Linked DNA regions of Homo sapiens: region 2 is linked to region 1. Evidence: promoter capture Hi-C in 16 types of primary human blood cells and fetal thymus (Javierre and others, 2016). All regions are on one chromosome and are shown on one strand. The core of a region is centred on a gene start or on the middle of the fragment in contact, and the rest is flanking DNA. Distances in the headings are between cores, read along the strand shown.

Region 1 (6,740 bases), core at 4,241-6,740:
ACACCTCTTTGAATTACCTCCACCTGTGTCCCCATCACCATTACCAGCAGCATTTGGACCCTTTTTCTGTTAGTCAGATGCTTTCCACCTCTTGAGGGTGTATACTGTATGCTCTCTACACAGGAATATGCAGAGGAAATAGAAAAAGGGAAATCGCATTACTATTCAGAGAGAAGAAGACCTTTATGTGAATGAATGAGAGTCTAAAATCCTAAGAGAGCCCATATAAAATTATTACCAGTGCTAAAACTACAAAAGTTACACTAACAGTAAACTAGAATAATAAAACATGCATCACAGTTGCTGGTAAAGCTAAATCAGATATTTTTTTCTTAGAAAAAGCATTCCATGTGTGTTGCAGTGATGACAGGAGTGCCCTTCAGTCAATATGCTGCCTGTAATTTTTGTTCCCTGGCAGAATGTATTGTCTTTTCTCCCTTTAAATCTTAAATGCAAAACTAAAGGCAGCTCCTGGGCCCCCTCCCCAAAGTCAGCTGCCTGCAACCAGCCCCACGAAGAGCAGAGGCCTGAGCTTCCCTGGTCAAAATAGGGGGCTAGGGAGCTTAACCTTGCTCGATAAAGCTGTGTTCCTAGAATGTCGCTCCTGTTCCCAGGGGCACCAGCCTGGAGGGTGGTGAGCCTCACTGGTGGCCTGATGCTTACCTTGTGCCCTCACACCAGTGGTCACTGGAACCTTGAACACTTGGCTGTCGCCCGGATCTGCAGATGTCAAGAACTTCTGGAAGTCAAATTACTGCCCACTTCTCCAGGGCAGATACCTGTGAACATCCAAAACCATGCCACAGAACCCTGCCTGGGGTCTACAACACATATGGACTGTGAGCACCAAGTCCAGCCCTGAATCTGTGACCACCTGCCAAGATGCCCCTAACTGGGATCCACCAATCACTGCACATGGCAGGCAGCGAGGCTTGGAGGTGCTTCGCCACAAGGCAGCCCCAATTTGCTGGGAGTTTCTTGGCACCTGGTAGTGGTGAGGAGCCTTGGGACCCTCAGGATTACTCCCCTTAAGCATAGTGGGGACCCTTCTGCATCCCCAGCAGGTGCCCCGCTCTTCAGAGCCTCTCTCTCTGAGGTTTACCCAGACCCCTGCACCAATGAGACCATGCTGAAGCCTCAGAGAGAGAGATGGAGCTTTGACCAGGAGCCGCTCTTCCTTGAGGGCCAGGGCAGGGAAAGCAGGAGGCAGCACCAGGAGTGGGAACACCAGTGTCTAAGCCCCTGATGAGAACAGGGTGGTCTCTCCCATATGCCCATACCAGGCCTGTGAACAGAATCCTCCTTCTGCAGTGACAATGTCTGAGAGGACGACATGTTTCCCAGCCTAACGTGCAGCCATGCCCATCTACCCACTGCCTACTGCAGGACAGCACCAACCCAGGAGCTGGGAAGCTGGGAGAAGACATGGAATACCCATGGCTTCTCACCTTCCTCCAGTCCAGTGGGCACCATTTATGCCTAGGACACCCACCTGCCGGCCCCAGGCTCTTAAGAGTTAGGTCACCTAGGTGCCTCTGGGAGGCCGAGGCAGGAGAATTGCTTGAACCCGGGAGGCAGAGGTTGCAGTGAGCCGAGATCACACCACTGCACTCCAGCCTGGGTGACAGAATGAGACTCTGTCTCAAAAAAAAAGAGAAAGATAGCATCAGTGGCTACCAAGGGCTAGGGGCAGGGGAAGGTGGAGAGTTAATGATTAATAGTATGAAGTTTCTATGTGAGATGATGAAAATGTTCTGGAAAAAAAAATATAGTGGTGAGGATGTAGAATATTGTGAATATAATTAACGGCATTTAATTGTACACTTAACATGATTAATGTGGCATATTTTATCTTATGTATTTGACTACATCCAAGAAACACTGGGAGAGGGAAAGCCCACCATGTAAAATACACCCACCCTAATCAGATAGTCCTCATTGTACCCAGGTACAGGCCCCTCATGACCTGCACAGGAATAACTAAGGATTTAAGGACATGAGGCTTCCCAGCCAACTGCAGGTGCACAACATAAATGTATCTGCAAACAGACTGAGAGTAAAGCTGGGGGCACAAACCTCAGCACTGCCAGGACACACACCCTTCTCGTGGATTCTGACTTTATCTGACCCGGCCCACTGTCCAGATCTTGTTGTGGGATTGGGACAAGGGAGGTCATAAAGCCTGTCCCCAGGGCACTCTGTGTGAGCACACGAGACCTCCCCACCCCCCCACCGTTAGGTCTCCACACATAGATCTGACCATTAGGCATTGTGAGGAGGACTCTAGCGCGGGCTCAGGGATCACACCAGAGAATCAGGTACAGAGAGGAAGACGGGGCTCGAGGAGCTGATGGATGACACAGAGCAGGGTTCCTGCAGTCCACAGGTCCAGCTCACCCTGGTGTAGGTGCCCCATCCCCCTGATCCAGGCATCCCTGACACAGCTCCCTCCCGGAGCCTCCTCCCAGGTGACACATCAGGGTCCCTCACTCAAGCTGTCCAGAGAGGGCAGCACCTTGGACAGCGCCCACCCCACTTCACTCTTCCTCCCTCACAGGGCTCAGGGCTCAGGGCTCAAGTCTCAGAACAAATGGCAGAGGCCAGTGAGCCCAGAGATGGTGACAGGGCAATGATCCAGGGGCAGCTGCCTGAAACGGGAGCAGGTGAAGCCACAGATGGGAGAAGATGGTTCAGGAAGAAAAATCCAGGAATGGGCAGGAGAGGAGAGGAGGACACAGGCTCTGTGGGGCTGCAGCCCAGGATGGGACTAAGTGTGAAGACATCTCAGCAGGTGAGGCCAGGTCCCATGAACAGAGAAGCAGCTCCCACCTCCCCTGATGCACGGACACACAGAGTGTGTGGTGCTGTGCCCCCAGAGTCGGGCTCTCCTGTTCTGGTCCCCAGGGAGTGAGAAGTGAGGTTGACTTGTCCCTGCTCCTCTCTGCTACCCCAACATTCACCTTCTCCTCATGCCCCTCTCTCTCAAATATGATTTGGATCTATGTCCCCGCCCAAATCTCATGTCAAATTGTAAACCCCAATGTTGGAGGTGGGGCCTTGTGAGAAGTGATTGGATAATGCGGGTGGATTTTCTGCTTTGATGCTGTTTCTGTGATAGAGATCTCACATGATCTGGTTGTTTAAAAGTGTGTAGCACCTCTCCCCTCTCTCTCTCTCTCTCTTACTCATGCTCTGCCATGTAAGACGTTCCTGTTTCCCCTTCACCGTCCAGAATGATTGTAAGTTTTCTGAGGCCTCCCCAGGAGCAGAAGCCACTATGCTTCCTGTACAACTGCAGAATGATGAGCGAATTAAACCTCTTTTCTTTATAAATTACCCAGTCTCAGGTATTTCTTTATAGCAATGCGAGGACAGACTAATACAATCTTCTACTCCCAGATCCCCGCACACGCTTAGCCCCAGACATCACTGCCCCTGGGAGCATGCACAGCGCAGCCTCCTGCCGACAAAAGCAAAGTCACAAAAGGTGACAAAAATCTGCATTTGGGGACATCTGATTGTGAAAGAGGGAGGACAGTACACTTGTAGCCACAGAGACTGGGGCTCACCGAGCTGAAACCTGGTAGCACTTTGGCATAACATGTGCATGACCCGTGTTCAATGTCTAGAGATCAGTGTTGAGTAAAACAGCCTGGTCTGGGGCCGCTGCTGTCCCCACTTCCCTCCTGTCCACCAGAGGGCGGCAGAGTTCCTCCCACCCTGGAGCCTCCCCAGGGGCTGCTGACCTCCCTCAGCCGGGCCCACAGCCCAGCAGGGTCCACCCTCACCCGGGTCACCTCGGCCCACGTCCTCCTCGCCCTCCGAGCTCCTCACACGGACTCTGTCAGCTCCTCCCTGCAGCCTATCGGCCGCCCACCTGAGGCTTGTCGGCCGCCCACTTGAGGCCTGTCGGCTGCCCTCTGCAGGCAGCTCCTGTCCCCTACACCCCCTCCTTCCCCGGGCTCAGCTGAAAGGGCGTCTCCCAGGGCAGCTCCCTGTGATCTCCAGGACAGCTCAGTCTCTCACAGGCTCCGACGCCCCCTATGCTGTCACCTCACAGCCCTGTCATTACCATTAACTCCTCAGTCCCATGAAGTTCACTGAGCGCCTGTCTCCCGGTTACAGGAAAACTCTGTGACAGGGACCACGTCTGTCCTGCTCTCTGTGGAATCCCAGGGCCCAGCCCAGTGCCTGACACGGAACAGATGCTCCATAAATACTGGTTAAATGTGTGGGAGATCTCTAAAAAGAAGCATATCACCTCCGTGTGGCCCCCAGCAGTCAGAGTCTGTTCCATGTGGACACAGGGGCACTGGCACCAGCATGGGAGGAGGCCAGCAAGTGCCCGCGGCTGCCCCAGGAATGAGGCCTCAACCCCCAGAGCTTCAGAAGGGAGGACAGAGGCCTGCAGGGAATAGATCCTCCGGCCTGACCCTGCAGCCTAATCCAGAGTTCAGGGTCAGCTCACACCACGTCGACCCTGGTCAGCATCCCTAGGGCAGTTCCAGACAAGGCCGGAGGTCTCCTCTTGCCCTCCAGGGGGTGACATTGCACACAGACATCACTCAGGAAACGGATTCCCCTGGACAGGAACCTGGCTTTGCTAAGGAAGTGGAGGTGGAGCCTGGTTTCCATCCCTTGCTCCAACAGACCCTTCTGATCTCTCCCACATACCTGCTCTGTTCCTTTCTGGGTCCTATGAGGACCCTGTTCTGCCAGGGGTCCCTGTGCAACTCCAGACTCCCTCCTGGTACCACCATGGGGAAGGTGGGGTGATCACAGGACAGTCAGCCTCGCAGAGGACAGAGACCACCCAGGACTGTCAGGGAGAACATGGACAGGCCCTGAGCCGCAGCTCAGCCAACAGACACGGAGAGGGAGGGTCCCCCTGGAGCCTTCCCCAAGGACAGCAGAGCCCAGAGTCACCCACCTCCCTCCACCACAGTCCTCTCTTTCCAGGACACACAAGACACCTCCCCCTCCACATGCAGGATCTGGGGACTCCTGAGACCTCTGGGCCTGGGTCTCCATCCCTGGGTCAGTGGCGGGGTTGGTGGTACTGGAGACAGAGGGCTGGTCCCTCCCCAGCCACCACCCAGTGAGCCTTTTTCTAGCCCCCAGAGCCACCTCTGTCACCTTCCTGTTGGGCATCATCCCACCTTCCCAGAGCCCTGGAGAGCATGGGGAGACCCGGGACCCTGCTGGGTTTCTCTGTCACAAAGGAAAATAATCCCCCTGGTGTGACAGACCCAAGGACAGAACACAGCAGAGGTCAGCACTGGGGAAGACAGGTTGTCCTCCCAGGGGATGGGGGTCCATCCACCTTGCCGAAAAGATTTGTCTGAGGAACTGAAAATAGAAGGGAAAAAAGAGGAGGGACAAAAGAGGCAGAAATGAGAGGGGAGGGGACAGAGGACACCTGAATAAAGACCACACCCATGACCCACGTGATGCTGAGAAGTACTCCTGCCCTAGGAAGAGACTCAGGGCAGAGGGAGGAAGGACAGCAGACCAGACAGTCACAGCAGCCTTGACAAAACGTTCCTGGAACTCAAGCTCTTCTCCACAGAGGAGGACAGAGCAGACAGCAGAGACCATGGAGTCTCCCTCGGCCCCTCCCCACAGATGGTGCATCCCCTGGCAGAGGCTCCTGCTCACAGGTGAAGGGAGGACAACCTGGGAGAGGGTGGGAGGAGGGAGCTGGGGTCTCCTGGGTAGGACAGGGCTGTGAGACGGACAGAGGGCTCCTGTTGGAGCCTGAATAGGGAAGAGGACATCAGAGAGGGACAGGAGTCACACCAGAAAAATCAAATTGAACTGGAATTGGAAAGGGGCAGGAAAACCTCAAGAGTTCTATTTTCCTAGTTAATTGTCACTGGCCACTACGTTTTTAAAAATCATAATAACTGCATCAGATGACACTTTAAATAAAAACATAACCAGGGCATGAAACACTGTCCTCATCCGCCTACCGCGGACATTGGAAAATAAGCCCCAGGCTGTGGAGGGCCCTGGGAACCCTCATGAACTCATCCACAGGAATCTGCAGCCTGTCCCAGGCACTGGGGTGCAACCAAGATCACACAAATCCCTGCCCTCATGAAGCTCATGCTCTCATGGGGAGGAAGACAGACATACAAAGAGATCTAGAATGTGAGGTCAGGTGTTGACAAGAGCCCTGGAGGGAATAGAGCAGGGAAAGGTCAGAAAAGGAAGACCCAGGGTCTCTAGAGGAGGTGTCAGGGAAGGGATCTCCCAAGAATGCCCTGATGTGAGCAGGACCTGAAGGCAATGGGGAGGGAGCCGTGAAGACCCCTGGAAAAGCAGATTCCACACAGGGAAATGCCAAGGTCAGAGGTGCTAAGGAAATAGGAGACACACTGCTGACCTTGACCTAGTAGGACACACACACACACACACACACACACACACTCACTCACTCCAGGGCTGGGGGATGAAGAGACCTGCTCAGGACCCAGGACCCCATTTTTCCACCCTAATGCATAGGTCCCAATATTGACCGATGCTCTCTGCTCTCTCCTAGCCTCACTTCTAACCTTCTGGAACCCGCCCACCACTGCCAAGCTCACTATTGAATCCACGCCGTTCAATGTCGCAGAGGGGAAGGAGGTGCTTCTACTTGTCCACAATCTGCCCCAGCATCTTTTTGGCTACAGCTGGTACAAAGGTGAAAGAGTGGATGGCAACCGTCAAATTATAGGATATGTAATAGGAACTCA
Region 2 (6,740 bases), core at 2,931-5,430, 140 kb after region 1:
GCCTGTAGTCCCAGCTACTCGGGAAGCTGAGGCAGGAGAATCACTTGAACCCAGGAGGCGGAGGTTGTAGTGAGCCAAGATCACGCCACTGCACTCCAGCCTGGGCGACACAGCAAGACTCCATCTCAAAAAAAAAAAATGAGCTAGATGGGGGAGATGAGAACTGTCTGGGGTTGGGGTAGGATAGGGGTCAGGAGAAAGGGCTCATTAGAGCTCTCCCTGGTCCTTCACAGCTGGAAAGGAGAACATAGCACCCCAGCCTCAGACCCCCCATGGGGCAGTCCTGCTGGCACCGACACCCCCCGGGAAGGTAAGGAGAGGCTGGGGCCTGAGAAAGTGTCCCCCACCCTAGTTCCTACCCAGACCCTTTCTTCTGTGCCCTCAACACCTGGGTTCTAGCCCCAGCCCTGGTTTGCTATGTAATCTAGTCAAATCACTGCTCTTCTCTAGGCAAAATGAGGGGAAAACGAGGGCCTCCCAGCCCCAAAGTTTTGGGGTTCTGCCCGTATCCCAGAATACACTCAATCCTTTTCCAGCCTTGTACCCAACTCCAGCCTGTGCCCTCTGCCCCTGCAGAACTCCTGTGGGCCTCTGCTGCTCAGCCATCCCCCGGAAGCCTCGCCCTTGTCCTGGACTCCGGTGCCTCCTGGCCCTTGGGTCCCTGGACACTGGCTGCCTCCAGGCTTCTCCATGCCACCACCAGTGGTGTGCCGCCTGCTGTACCAAGAACCTGCTGTCTCTCTGCCTCCCTTCCCTGGTAAGATGATAATTCAACATTCATTCAACATATATTTGAGTGCCAATCTGCCACATATTGGAGAGGGAAGAGGAAGAAAGCATAGGTGGGGAGAGGGAGGAAAGAAACTATGACCTTGGCCCCTATACACTCTGCATTCTTTTATTCTTATTAGGCTTTGACCCTGGCACCTCCCTCCAGCTGCCCACTCATGGGCCCTTCACCACCTGCCCAGGATCTCACCCAGTACTGACAGCTCCTCTTTCTGGAGAGCCCCAAGGGCCCCCTAGCCAGCCCCGCACGTGAGTAGGGAGAGAAGGATGTGTATCATAAGCCTAAGCCTGTGCTGTGTCCAACCACAGTGCTGGTGTCCAACCACAGTGGATAATGAAGATGAAAAGGTCTCTGACTAATAGGCAAGGCAGAGCTCTCCTAGTACTGCCATTTCCTAGCTGTGATGCTTTGGACAATTATCTTTACCTCTCTGAGCCTGTTTTTCTATCAGTAAATTGGAGACACTATTACTTACCTCTCTGATTGTTGTAAGAATTAGCAATAATGTATGGAATAGACCTAGCACAGACTCTTTAATGGTAGCTGTTATATCTGCTTAGACAGATTTGATGGGGTAAGATTGCCTGCTGATATGGGGGGCAGAGATGATGAGAGCCTCAGAGACCCAGGAGAGGGGCCAGAGGCCATTAGGAAAAGCTTCCCAAAGGTGAGCCAAGCTCTCCTTCAAGTTCTATGGTGACTGGGGAACTGGGGGAATGGGACCCAGACTCTGATAGGTCAGGGACAGTAATCTCAGTCTTCTAGGTGTTTTTTTAAAAACCGGCATCAGGTGGGGCCTGGTGGCTCACACCTGTAATCCCAACACTTTGGGAGGCTGAGGTGGGAGGATTACTTGAGGCCAAGAGTTTGAGACCACCTGAGTAACTGAGCGAGACTTCGTCTCTACAAAAAAATTAAAACAGCCAGGAATGGTGGTGCACACCTGTTTTCCTGGCTACTTAGGAGGCTGAGGTGGGAAGATGGTGTAGGCCCAGGAGTTCAAGCTTATGGTGAGCCATGATCACACCGCCACTGCACTCCAGCCTAGGTGACAGAGCAAGAGCCTGTCTCAAAAAAAAAAAAGACACTAGTGATTTCCCATAATCCTCACAGTAGCCCTGGGAGGAAAAACTGGCAAGGATTTTTACTTTACTGAAAACAAAATAAGTCAAGACACAGCTTAATGGCCCAGCAGGCTCTCAGATTCCCAGATCAAAACATGGCAAAATCCTGCCCCTCTTTCAATGTGTGCATGTCTGTTCATCTGTTTAACCACCCTGGCATCTTCTCTCCTTGTTTCTAGACACTCAACTCTGATACTCCAGCCCTGTGGCACCCCAGACCCTCTTCAGCTACAGCCACAGGTCCTGGGAAAGAAGTGGGATCTAGGGCCCTGGGAGGAGGTTGAGCCTGGGGAAGGAAAAAGCAGGAAACTGAAGGAAGCAGGGGCTGAGGAACACTTAGAGGGTGGGCAGAAGCGGGGGTTCCCAGTCTGCTTGTCTCCCTTTCCCTTGCAGGCCTCTGGAGCCTCGTGCCTGGCCCGGACATCTGGCCCCTCAGAGTGGCAGCTGCAGCAAGAGGCAGCTGAAGCCCTCGTGGGGCTGAAAGATTCATCCCAGGCTCCTCGTGTGACCCCTTCTGTGCCCCCCAACCCTGCCTGGATCTCCCTGCTTCACCCCTGTGGCCCACCAGGTGGGCCATGAAAGGAGAGGATGGATAGGGATGGCTGGGAAATGGAGATCACTGAAGTACACAGGGACTAACCAAGGAGATGAGGGGGTCGACAGGTTGAACGTCTTCAGGCCCAGGACCCCAAGCTCCTCAGCCTGGCCCCTGGGATTGCAGTTGAGAGTTATTCAGTGAATCCTTTTTATCAGTTTGGCACTCGACAGCAAATTTCTTGATATCAAGGAAAGTGGGGCACTGAGAAAGGCAGGGACTTGCCCAAGGGCATATAGTGAGACAGTGGCAGGGAACCCAATGCTCTGTCTCTGGACCCAGGCTGCCTGCTGAAGTCTGAAGTGGGGTCTGGCCTGGGAGGAGGTCTGATAAGTGCCTTCAAGGAGCTTACGTTCTAGTTAGGGAAATTGGATGCCTTCACAAGGCTCAGTGACAAACCTGAAGAAGATTGGAGGAACCTTGAAGAGTGAGAAACACCTAGGGGGACAGACAGGGAAAGCTGCGAATTCTCTTGTCCAAATAGTGGATTGGGCAGACTGGCCTGGAGGAAATGCTAGAACAGAGGGAAAGGAGGCTGGAGAGGCTTCTGATGGTGGAGATCTGGCATGCCAGGCTTAGGTGTCTAGAACAGCAACTGTATGTGAAGGGGAGCCAGGGAACGTTTCTGAACTAAGCAAGGACAAATTCAGAGACCCTGAGCTTTAGAAAGACAAGTGGGTGGCTTTGATGGACGGTTTGGAGGAGGCAAGACTGGAGGTGGGAAAATTAGCAAGGAGGTCTGTGAAATAATCCAGGAGAACAATGATGAGGCCTGGATTGGATTCGGTAAAAAGAGGGGGTTGCTAGAAGGAAAAACAGGTGTGACCTGATCCTGCCCCTTCCTTCTTGCCTGTAGCTCCTGCTGGAGGAAGAGGATTCCAGCCTGTTGGCCCCTGTCTTCGACCCAGCCCAGCCCCCTCTGTTGCTCTGCATATTGGCCGTCTGGGGTCCATCTCCCTCCTGAGCTAGAAACCCAGAGATGGAGGCTGTCTTGCTATGGCAGGGAGGTGACAGCCTGCTGGCACTGTATATTTAGTGTCTTACTTAAGGATTTATGCATGGAATTTAATGTAGTACAAGCTTCGGGCTTTTTTGTTTGTTTGTTTGTTTGTTTGTTTAAGCTTTCAGGTGCTTCATTAGCTTTCAGTTCCTTTGGTAGTGTGGGCATTTCCTTGGCTGACAGTGGATATTCTTGTACCCTTCTTGGGTCCTGGGATCTCTTGAAATCCCCAATAAAGAGAGAGTTGTGCTATTTAAGCTGACCAGTATCTATAAACGTGTTTGCATGAGTTTACATCCCAGGATTCCATGATTCTGTAAATGCCTATGCATTCATGTCTGTCTCCATGCATGTGAAAACAGGAGAGTGTTTTCATTTTGTGTCTAGGTTTGTGTGAGTAAGCAAGAAATAAACCTTTGTTGTTGTAAGCCACTGAGATTTGGAGAGTGTTACCACAGCCTAACCTAGTCTATCCTGACTGACAGAAAGGACTTGTTCATTTCGCTTCTCAAAGTGAAAAATCTGTTATCCAATAGCTACCATAGATGAAAACAAACTTGGATTTTTTTCTTTGTCCAAATAAAAAAAAATGATGTAAAGAAATAATGGGGGATTCACTGATTAATTGCCCGCTCTGTGCCAGGCATAGACAGTTTCCAGCTGTCTAGAGGGGCTACAAATCGAAATGCCTACAGGGCTGAGCAGATCAAATAAATGAGTAAAGAAGGCCAGATGGACCCTGGCAAACTGAGAATGGATGCCTTGCCTAAGGAGCAGCCTCCTTTTGGCCCTAGCAGATTACTGCCAGGCGGGAATGTGGACTCAGTGTTGCTCCATCTTCTGATTTTTTAAGAGAAACTGGAAAACTAGATTTCCATGTAAAACATCTTAATTTTCAAATGTTGGCTCAGTTTTCTTCTTTAAATTCTATACGTGCCAAATAAAACATATTTTCAGGCTAGCTTTGGCCAGTGGAATACCAATTTGATACATTTTCCAGATGGGGAAATTGAGGCTAACCAGAATAGAAAGAATCGAGTTAGTCTTTATCACAAGTTTTTCCTCAACTAGGGAGGTTCACGTGTCTGAGTTTCGAAGGATCCATAAAAGGTTAAGAAACATTTATTACCATTTATTGAGTGCCCACTCCATTTGATTCACATATCTTCACAGCAACCCTGGAAGTTATGCAGGATGGTTCCCATTTTACAAGTGAAGAAACAAGCTTAAAGAGGTAAAGTAACTTGCCCAAGTGTTTTAGGGGAAATTTCTAGGCAGAGATCAGAGGAGGGTTCCTTCTCTTTGCCAGGCTCCAAATTAGTTAATAATGTTTATAAAGCATTGGGCCGGGTGTGATAGCTCACACCTGTAATCCCAGCACTTTGGGAGGCCAAGGCAGGAGGATCGCTTGAGCCCAGGAGTTTGAGACCAGCCTGAGTAACACGGGGAGACCCTGTCTCTATAAAAACAAATAAATAAAAGCATAGAATGAAAGATGCACCACTCCTTTCCCCAATCAGGACTCCAGAAGATACATACAAGTCAAGAGTTTTTCAAAAAAGTCTTTTATTTTTCTCCTCAAGATATCATTAAGAATAAGATCTTACCTGCATTTGTTTCTCAGTCCTCTGGTGTCAAGTCCTTCTCCTTGAACCATTCCGTACATAGGAAAACCTGTTGAGCTATTCCAAAGACATGAAGCCTGGAGACCCCCTTCCCATTCCCACCCTTAGAAGGGGCTCAAGGGATGTGCTTGATCACTGATTCTTTTTCCTGATGTTACCTACACCCCTTGTTTTACTCAAGATGATTGATGGTGATGACATCCAATTACAACTTGTTATTTCTTATTTGGGATTTTGAGAGGGTGGGTTTCTTCTCCTCCCTAGCAGAGTACAGAGTAACAAACCTGCAGCACTTCTCAGGAGATACTGAGATATCAGGAGACCAAAGTCGGCTTCACACCCTTCTTCCCTCCCCTTAGCTATAACTTAGATATATGATTGCTCCTTAATAGACCTGCCTAAGACTTGGTGTGCCATGCTTTCCTAGTGACAGATGACCAGGGCCACAAAGTCACAGAGAAAGGAAGCACTGCAACATGCAACATGGCTGAGATTCTGCTACTCAGCACTGACCAAGGGTCCTCTGTACACCAAGGTCACAGAGCTGAGAAGGGTAAAAGAGAAAGTATAATTTGGGGTTAAAGGATGGCATGAAAAGGGGAGGAAAAGAGGAAGTGATGGAGATTGGGGGAAGGAGTAGACTAGAGGCCACCTCTCCTTCACCTCTCCTCCAGTACCCGGCCTTCAGTACCCAGCCTGGGCAAGGCTTTTCACACCAGTTGGCCAGGCCAACTTTGTCTTTCAAATCGTTAGGGCCCCCCATTAGTGCCTGAGGGAAAGGGCCAGAGCTTCTGCAGATGTCAGTCTTAGGGAAAAGAGCAGATTTAAGAGTTGCTCATGCTCCTAAGTTGTTGCCTGTTCAGGTGCAGCACTCTTCACCTGTGGTTGTAGGGAGCCAGTAGGCTCCTGGCCTCTTCTTGGCTCTGAGAGATTACAGATAATAGACTGTGAGCACTGTTTCCTATACTGCCCCCTTTCCCACTTCCCAGTGCCAGGTAGGGAAAGGTATTGCCATGGTCCAATAAAGTACTGAGTAAATCATCTCCCTTCTAAACCTTCTTTGTGTACCCTCTTGGCACTCTGCAGACTTAACCAATGAGGTCCCAACTATGAAGCACCGTCCCTGTTCCTCTCTCTCCTCACAAGACTCCTCCCCACAGTCACCCAGGTTTTATTTCAGGAGCTTATTTCACATTCTGCCCTTTGGGAATCCATGCTCCTTTCGCTTCAGCCCTACATTAACTTGCTCCACTCCTGACCTCAATTCTCGTCCAACGTAGAACTGACATCATACACTTATCCCATCCAGCCTATACGCAGACCCTCATTGCTTCGTCCACATAGGCCTCATTCTGCACCCCTGTTCCATTGTGTAGCTGGCTTTGCAGCCCTGACACGTTTGCATAAATACAGTCCTATAACCCCTACCCTGCATGGGCCTTCACAAGATCCTGAACTCTTCACAAAACCAAAGTTCATCCTTTTCATCCAACTCAAAATAATATGTTAAGCCTCTCAGGCAGAGTTCCCTATGTTCCCAAGGGGCCACTGGTCTCTACTTCATAGTCCTGATCACCCTGAGCTGTGCCTATCTATGTCCATCTAT

The links. The method cuts DNA at HindIII sites, captures the fragments that hold promoters and counts their contacts. A CHiCAGO score of 5 or more calls a contact.
Region 2: a contact is called between a fragment that was not itself captured here and the fragment with the promoter of CEACAM5 in region 1, in 1 of 17 cell types (M1 macrophages). The highest score is 5.1, in M1 macrophages.

What each region holds. Positions count from the first base shown.
Region 1 is chr19:41,703,136-41,709,875 of GRCh38, forward strand. CEACAM5 (CEA cell adhesion molecule 5) reads left to right here and starts at 5,491. Exons shown (of 10, transcript NM_004363.6): 1 at 5,491-5,660; 2 at 6,545-6,740. The coding sequence starts at 5,597. RefSeq lists silencers at 3,612-3,731, 3,752-3,801, 3,832-3,881. The HindIII fragment of the contact is 18,236 bases long and covers 1-6,740 here.
Region 2 is chr19:41,848,219-41,854,958 of GRCh38, forward strand. DMRTC2 (DMRT like family C2) reads left to right here. Exons shown (of 9, transcript NM_001040283.3): 4 at 234-310; 5 at 577-757; 6 at 912-1,038; 7 at 2,094-2,154; 8 at 2,308-2,482; 9 at 3,366-4,115. The coding sequence ends at 3,478. Among named protein-coding and RNA genes, the nearest start is that of DMRTC2, 6.5 kb to the left of the region's middle. The HindIII fragment of the contact is 1,104 bases long and covers 3,629-4,732 here.